Regions from separate parts of the Homo sapiens genome. Here region 1 is linked to region 2. The links are contacts of gene promoters, found by promoter capture Hi-C in human tissues and cell types (Jung and others, 2019). All regions are on one chromosome and are shown on one strand. Each heading gives the region's core, a stretch centred on a gene start or on the middle of the fragment in contact. The rest is flanking DNA. Distances are from core to core; before and after follow the strand shown. Region 1 overlaps TUBGCP3 (tubulin gamma complex component 3). Region 2 holds the start of DCUN1D2 (defective in cullin neddylation 1 domain containing 2).

The links. The method cuts DNA at HindIII sites, captures the fragments that hold promoters and counts their contacts. A contact is called where the count stands out against the background at its distance.
Region 1: a fragment that was not itself captured here is called in contact with the fragment with the promoter of DCUN1D2 in region 2 in 1 of the 25 tissues and cell types used here (dorsolateral prefrontal cortex).

The regions. Positions count from the first base shown.
Region 1 is chr13:112,571,022-112,575,158 of GRCh38, forward strand. The region is part of intron 1 of TUBGCP3 (tubulin gamma complex component 3); the gene reads right to left. Among named protein-coding and RNA genes, the nearest start is that of TUBGCP3, 15 kb to the right of the region's middle. The HindIII fragment of the contact is 4,851 bases long and covers 1-4,137 here.
Region 2 is chr13:113,489,059-113,493,103 of GRCh38, forward strand. It overlaps DCUN1D2 (defective in cullin neddylation 1 domain containing 2), which reads right to left and starts at 1,653. Exons shown (of 7, transcript NM_001014283.2): 1 at 1,609-1,653. The coding sequence starts at 1,611. SLC9D1 (solute carrier family 9 member D1) reads left to right here and starts at 1,963. Exons shown (of 13, transcript NM_017905.6): 1 at 1,963-2,215. RefSeq lists an enhancer at 824-1,123 and a silencer at 1,354-2,273. The HindIII fragment of the contact is 3,591 bases long and covers 84-3,674 here.

The sequences.
Region 1 (4,137 bases), core at 909-3,408, 920 kb before region 2:
GCTATTGCCACCACATCTGCAGTTCCTTCCTCCACTGAAGGCTTGAACCCTCAAAGTCATCCATCATGGCTGGAATCACTTTCTTCCAAACTCCTGTTAATGTTGACAATTTGACCTCCCATGAATCACAAATGATCTTAATGGCATCTAGAATGATGAATCCTTTCCAGAAGGTTTTCAATTTACTTTGCCCAGATCCATCAGAGGAATCACTATCTATGGCAACTATAGCCTTATAAAATGTGTTTCTCAAGTGATAAGATTTGAAAGTTGAAATTACTCTTTGGTCCATGTTCTGCAGAACAGATGCATGTTAGCAGGCATGAAAACAACTCCAGGTGCATTCTCAACGAGCAGTAAGGAATCTTTTTCTGAGCAGCAGACCTTAATAGGAGGCTTAAAATATTCAGTAAACCATGCTATAAAAAGATGTGCTGTCATCTAGGCTTTGTCGTTTCATTTCTAGAGCACAGGAAGAGTAGATTTAGCATAACTCCTAAGGGCCCCAGGATTTTTGGAATGGTCAACGAGCACTGGCTTCAACAACTTCAGTCACCTGCTGCATTAGCCCCAGACAAGAGTCGGCTTATTCTTTGTAGCTCTGAAGGAAGGCACTAACTTCTCCTCTCTAGGAATGAAAGTTGGCATCTTATTAGACGCCAATAAGATGGCATCTTATTCCAATAGAAGGGTGTTTCACTTACACTGAAAATCTGTTGTTAGTGTAGCCACCTTCCCCAATGATCTCAGCTAGTTCTGGATGACTTGCTGCAGCTTCTCCATTAGCAGGTGCTGCTTCACCTTGCATTTTTATGTTATGGAGACAGCTTCTTTCCTTCAGTCTCATGAACTAAAAACCCCTGCTAGCTTCTAACTTTTCTTCTGCAGCTTCCTCACCTCTCTCAGCCTTCACAGAATTAAGGTCTTGCTCAAGATTAGGTTTTGGCTTAAAGGAATGCTGTGGCTGGTTTGATCTTCTATCCAGACCACTCAAACTTTCTCCATATTAGCAATAAGGCTGTTTCAATTTATTACTCTTGTGTTCACTGGAATAGCATTTGTAATTTCCTTCAAGAACTTTTCCTATTCAATCACAACTTGACTAACTGGCATAAGAGGCCTAGCTTCTCGCGTATCTCAGCTTTTGGCATGCCTTCCTCACCAAGCTTAACCATTTCTAGCTTTTGATTTAAAGTGAGAGGCATGTGACTCTTCATTTCACTTGAACACTAATTTCTTTTATTATTATTTCTTCTAAAAAACAAAAAGCGGGATACATGTGCAGAACGTGCAGGTTTGTTACACAGGTACACGTGTGGCAGGTTTGTTACATAGGTATACGTGTGCTGTGCTGGTTTGCGGCACCTAATGACCCGTCCTCTAAGTTCCCGCCCCTCACCCCCCACCCTCCAACAGGCTCTGGTGTGTGTTGTTCCCCTCTCTGTGTCCATGTGTTCTCACTGTTCAACTCCCACTTATGAGTGAGAAGGTCATGTTTGGTTTTCTGTTGATCACTAATTTCACTTAAACAGTAAGAGGTCACTGTAAGGCTATTAACTGGCCTAATTTCAATATTGTTGTGACTCAGGAAATAGGGAGGCCTGAGGAGAGAGGGTGAGACAGGGAACAGCTGGTCGGCAGAGTAGTCAGAACATACACAACACTTTTTGATTAAGTTTGCGCACTTCATGGCACCCCAAAACAATTACAACAGCAGCATCAAAGATCACAAGTTACACATCAACGTAACAGATGTAATAATCATGAAAAAGTCTGAAATACTGTGAGAATTTCCAAATATGACACAGAGATACAAAGTGAGCACATGCTGTTGGAAAAATGGTACCTAAAGACTTGCCCAACGCAGGGTGCCAAAAACTTCCAATTGTCAAATAACGCAGTATCTGTAAAGGACAATAAGATGACGTGTGCCTGTCCTCCACAAGGAAGCTCAGCACTGGGCAAATGCTGCCCTAGCCAAGACCTTCCGACAACTCCACTCTTAAAGATGAAAAGAACAGGTATCGCCAGATACCTGAGGGCATCATCTAAAACAAAAAGGAGACAAACACAAGAAGGAAAAAAGGAAACTCTAAGAAAAAGTAACAACGTAGGGAATAAGAAAATGGGGGCAAGATGTACAAAAACAAGCTATAATGGCCTACGAGATTAGACATAACACATCCATGAAACAAAACAGTATGCCATAAATTCAGAGAAGACAAGCTCTTGAATATTAAAAGTATGAAGGCAGATGTTTTTTAAAATAAGTAGAAAGCTTGTATTTAAAGTTGAAGAAGTCTCTCAAAAACTAAAACAAAAAGGCAAAAAGATGGAAATTACGACAGCCAAGACAAGGAAATCACCAGATCAGCCCAGGCAGAAGTGGGGAGGGAGAAACCTGGAGTGGAATAAATGTCCAAAGAAGTCATACAAGACAGAAAGGATGAGAAGGGAAGGGCCTTGGAAGTTACATGGTTCACAGCAACTGCCTTAGCCCCAGGAAAAAATCCAGGCTCTCATCTCTGCAGAGGCAAACTCCCAATCTGAGGAACTCCCACCCTCAGTACAAGGGATCTGGGAGAAGAATGTTCCCCACTACAATCTCAGCAGCAAAAGAACGTCAAGGGTCAGGAAGAAATCTTTCAGAAAGCCTCCACCTTCCGAAAGCAATCACTTCAATAAGTGGATTGGAGCTGGTGCCAGGGTGGGATAGCCTGCCTGTCTGCCCAACTTCTATGACTCTAGAAGTCAAGTTACCAGTAGATACCTCCAGATCCCCCCACCCCCACCACTGAGTGCTGGGCCCAGTTCAACCCGGGATGCAGAGGAGCAGCCCAACAGGGCAGTGCCCAGCTGCATCTGCCAGCAAAAGCCAACACTGTTCTCCATCCTAGGAAGGAAGTGGAACTATGAGTGGCACCTGGAAATTCAAGTGGGCACTCTGAGCTCAGTATGGCTTCCTCTGCCCAATCCGCAGAGAATCTTTAAGTGAGCACTCTGAGCTCACAGTGTGGCTTCCCCTGCCCAATCCACAGAGAATCTTCAAGTGGGCACTCTGAGCTCAGTGTGGCTTCCCCTGCCCAATCCACAGAGAATCTTCAAGTGGGCACTCTGAGCTCACAGTGTGGCTTCCCCCTGCCCAATCCACAGAGAATCTTCAAGTGGGCACTCTGAGCTCACAGTGTGGCTTCCCCCTGCCCAATCCACAAAGAATCTTCAAGTGGGCACTCCACGCTCACAGTGTGGCTTCCCCTGCCCAATCCACAGAGAATCTTCAAGTGAGCACTCTGAGCTCAGTGTGGCTTCCCCCTGCCCAATCCACAGAGAATCTTCAAGTGGGCACTCTGAGCTCAGTGTGGCTTCCCCTGCCCAATCCACAGAGAATCTTCAAGTGGGCACTCTGAGCTCACAGTGTGACTTCCCCTGCCCAATCCATAGACAATCCAAAATCCCCAGAAATGTAACAAAGGATTTAAGGAAGATATAAACAAAACCAGAAAAGTGGATCTAAGAAGAGCACTCTTGGTGAAACAGAAACTGAAGAATCCCTGAAAGATGTAAAGAAAACAAACAGGATTGACTTGAAAGAAGAAACTAGAGACAGAAGTCATCTCCGTCAAGACAGAGTAAGCACACTCCACTACTGATGACAATGTAAAACTCTGGCAAAAATACATAAAACACCTCCAATCAGACTCTGAACAATGGGTAAGAGAAGCAGACTGGGTATGAAACTGATGAATCAAAGGAAATCCTGGAATGACTTCCCCCATTTTTGCTTTTTGATATTTTCTTTATCTGTTTGCTGTTTACTGCACCAGCTGGGGCTGGGTAACACTCCAAAACCCAAACCACAAACAGGCAAAGACAGAAAAACCTCCGAGCCAGGCCCAGTCTCCCCAGCCAGGGCCCAGGTGGGGAGGGAGGGAGGAAGCACCACAGCTCTCCCAGCCCTGCGCCAGGCTACCAGCCCCTTCTACCTTCAGGGGCACCCCCGCAGTGGGCTGCCCCATTCCACACTTGACAAGAACCAATAATGGCCCCAAAACTCCATCACAAGGCTGGCAGGCTGGGGGTTCGGATTTTAGCCAGAACATGAGGAAATGTGTTGGGAACCAGAGTGAGGGCAGCAGC
Region 2 (4,045 bases), core at 403-2,902:
TACTCTTAAAATGTCCTTAGGGTCAACTTACCCGGGGCTGGCGGGCCAATCATGTTGATCGAATAAACTACGTAAGTTTATGGATCACTTTCACTCTGTTTCGGTATACAGCACGCTAGAGGGAGGGGGAGTTAAATTCATCCCTGCTCTTGGATCTCCAACCTCGGCAGCAGTGGAACGCTCCTCTCCAGCATCCTGAACATGTTCAAGTTTTCCCCAAACTAAGTTCCTGTCCACTCTGCCCCTGTCCTCCTAAAAGCTGGAGCAAGCTATCTCTACCTGCCCAGGTGTGCATCCTAACTCAGGCTACCTGGCTCCAGCCCGGCCTCCGCAGTGACCCCTAAAGGTCACAAAAGCTCGGCTGCTGCGGTCAGTGGGATCTTTTCAGCTGCTCTTTTGTTCAGCACTGCTGATGGCTCCCTCCTCCTTTAAACTCCATCCTCTTGGTTTCGACACATTCTAGTGTCCTGGTTTCTCCTACCAGCCCCCTCTCAGTCTCCTTTGTGGCTCTTCTCCCATCCTGAAGCTTGTCCTCACCCTCCACTCCCCTCTACACGTTACCGTGTCCCTTCTCCGGTGGCTCTCTGTGCCTTAGCCAGGACAATCTTTCAGCTCCTATACGTCATCATCGCCTACCACTAAGGGTCTGTGCATTCTGTTTCTTCTGCCTGGAGCCGCACACGGCTGGCTGCCCCGGAACCTCACTTTTTCTCTGGCTAATTTCCAGAGAAATTCTCCACAGTTCAACTCACACCCTCAGCATCTGACACCACTCCCACAGCCGCATCCTACAAGTTCCTGGAACCCGTGCCTTAGCCTTTGTCCCAACTGTGGTCAAACAATTGTGCATCTGGTGCCTGTCTCCCCTGCTGGGGCATCAACTCCCTCAACGCCAAGATCATGCCTGGCCCAGCACCAGTCACACCCAGCAGCACCTTGCTGGCCTCTGAACCGATGTGGACTGAATAAATCCCATCCATCACCATTTCCACCACATTTCAAAGTAACTGATGTGCACCTCCAGCAGCCTCCCTCCTGCGCTGCGGAACTCTACCAGCTCCACAGATGCACACCTACAGCCACGCTACAGCTCCCGGCTAGAGCCCGCGCTAGGGCCCCGCTGTGCCTCTCCCTCCCCTCCCGGCAGCAGGGCCTCCCCCGCGAATCTGAGCTTCTCGCGGATTCCTTCCTTGCGCTGTTTTGGTCAACAGCCTCAGCATCTGCACAGACGCCCGCAGGAGCAGCCGAGCCCTCGCCCGCCTCGACTGCCCGTTTCGAAGCCGCCCTGGGAAGCCCCCGGCCTGGGTTCCCGCTCGGCCCCGGCCCCTGCCCCAAGGCCCCTACAGTTCCTCCCGGCCCCCGCCCTCCGCTCACTCCCGGTCGTCCCTCGCGGCTCCGGGTCAAACCCGCGCTCCCCGCGGTCCCGCGCCTCCGACGCCACCGCTCCGGCTCGCGGGCCCGCGGCGCGTTCCTCCCTCGGATCCACGCGGAACGCCCCGCGCAGCTCGCTGGGCTCGGCCTCCCACATCCAGCGCGCCGCCTGCGCCGACCTTGGGGCCCGACCCCGACCCCGACCCCGACGGGCAGAGGCGACGCCGGGCCACCTACCATCTCCCCCGCGCCGCCCGCTTCTGGCCGGCCCCGGCCTTCTGCGCAGGCGCGGCGGCGGCTCCGCCCTCGTCCTCGGACGGCCGCGGCCCTCGGCTCCGGGGCAGTGCCGGGAGCCGGCCGCGGGGACTCCCACTCCCGGCATGCTCAGCGCCGCCCGGGGGCCCACGGGAGCTCGCGCCCCACAGCCCCTGCGCGTCCAGCCCTCTGCGAGGGCCTTGGCTCGCCCCTGCGGGGTCCAACGCCAGCCTGCGGCTGCCAGGCCCCACGCCGGCCAGGAAGTGCTCGCCGCCCGCGGCCGACGGGACCCGCCCACGCCCCGCCTCTTAAAGGGGGCAGTGACTGCGGCTGGGCGGGAGTCCGGGTCGGCTTGGCTGAGCGGGGGCGGTGCTGGGCAGGGCGGCGGCCGCTCCCTCCCGGACTCCCGGCCTCCCGGCCTCCCTGGTCCCGCCTGGGAAGGGATGCAAGGAAGCCCTCCGGCGCTGCGCTCCGAGGCGGGAGACAGCGTCCCCCTCCGCCCCTCGGGTCCTGGCGCCTCAGAGCCCGGCCCAGGCCGCGGAACGGTGATGCTCGGGCCGGACGGGCGGGCGCGGATCCCTGCGTCCCGGTGAGCACCAGGCCCGTCCATCCGGGGCTCTTTCCCGGGGTCCCCTTCCTTCCCTCCCTCCCTGGGGCTCCCCTCCCCTCTCTCCCTCCCCGGGGCTCACCTTCCCTTCTTCCCTTCCCAAGGGTCCCCTTCCTTCCTTCCCTCCCTCCCTGGGGCTCCCCTCTCTCCCTCCCCGGGGCTCCCATTCCCTTCTTCCCTTCCCAGGGGTCCCCTTCCTTCCTTCCCTCCCTCCCTGGGGCTCCCCTCCTCTCTCTCCCTCCCTGGGGCTCACCTCCCCTCTCTCTCTCCTCGGGGCTCCCCTTTTCTTGCAGGTATTGTCTCCCGGGGTCGGGTGGTCTGTGTGGCCTGGGGTCCCGCTCCTCCAGGCCTTGCCTAGGCGCTCTTCGCTGAGGCCCACGTTCTAACCTGGAATGGAACCTGCGTTCCCACCCTGGCCGCCCGGGTGGACTCGGGGCCTCCAGGGCCGGCCGCAGAGATGCAGCCCTGTCCCTGGCCCCCCTCCTGTGACTCCTAACGGCTCCTCACGGTGTCCATGACCCAGGGTGTGGACGCCTGCGCGGGGGAAGCAAGACCGCTGCGTATCGGGTCCCTATTCACTGCCTGTTTTTCTGATTATTCTGTCTTCCAAATTTATCTTATTTACCGGCTTTTTCAAAAGGAGTGTCTTAATGATTGGATTACTTGTGAAATATTTGTAGTTTTTTTCTCCTACAGGCTTGACTTAAATATTCTAAAGCTTTTTTGTGGTTGTTGAGACAGAGTTTTGCTGTCGCCCAGGCTGGAGTGCAGTGGCTGGTCAAGGCTCAAGCGATTCTCCCGCCTCAGCCTCCCCAGGAGCTGGGGCCACAGGGAGCATCACGCCCGGCTAATTATTTCATTTTTAATAGAGACAGGGTCTTGCTGTGTTGCCCAGGATGATCTCCAACTCCTGACCTCAAGCAGTTCGCCCACCTCAGCCTCCCAGAGCGCTGGGAATACAGATAATTGTGTCGTAATACAGCAGTGGCATTAACCACCGCACCTGGTCTTAGGTAGAATTTGAAAACCTTTTTATTTTGAGATGGTTGTAGATCACATGAAGTTGTAAGGAGTAATACAGAGAAATCCTACAGAGTGCCTTTGCCCTGTTTTCTCCAATGGTAGCACCTTGCAAAACCATAGTATATGTGGGGAATTTTCTTTGATCAAATCCCCTGACCTGTTGAGATTGCACCAACTATACATGCACTAGTGAGTGTGAATCTACACCTGTGTGTCTTCTCAATAAAATTGAGATTTTTTTTCACTCAGCCTTGAGATACATCCGCATTGTTATGTGTATCAATTGCTCAAGATGCAGAAATTCTAAGAATTCATTATTTAAAAAGTAATCCCAGCACTTTGGGAGGCTGAGGTGGGTGGATCACCTGAGGTCAGGAGTTTGAGACCAGCCTGGCCAACATGGCAAAACACCGTCTCTACTAAAAATACAAAAATTAGCTGGGTGTGGTGGCGAGCGCCTGTAATTCCAGCTACTTGGGAGGCTGAGGCAGGAGAATTGCTTGAACCCGGGAGGCAAAGGTTGCAGTGAGCTGAGATCACAACACTGCACTCCAGCCTGGGTGACAAGAGCAAAACTCCGTCTCAAACAGCAACAACAACAAAAAAAACACATTACAGGAATCCAAAGTGTCTTTTTAATAACTAGAACAGCTAAAGATGTTTACTAATTTGCTCAAAAAACATGCTACAATTTAGTAGTCAGTAGGATTTTGGAGGCAAGTTTGAAGATAAAATGAAATGAGTTTGAATAAAGGTGATTTGTATTTTAAGGGTCCATAAATAATTTCA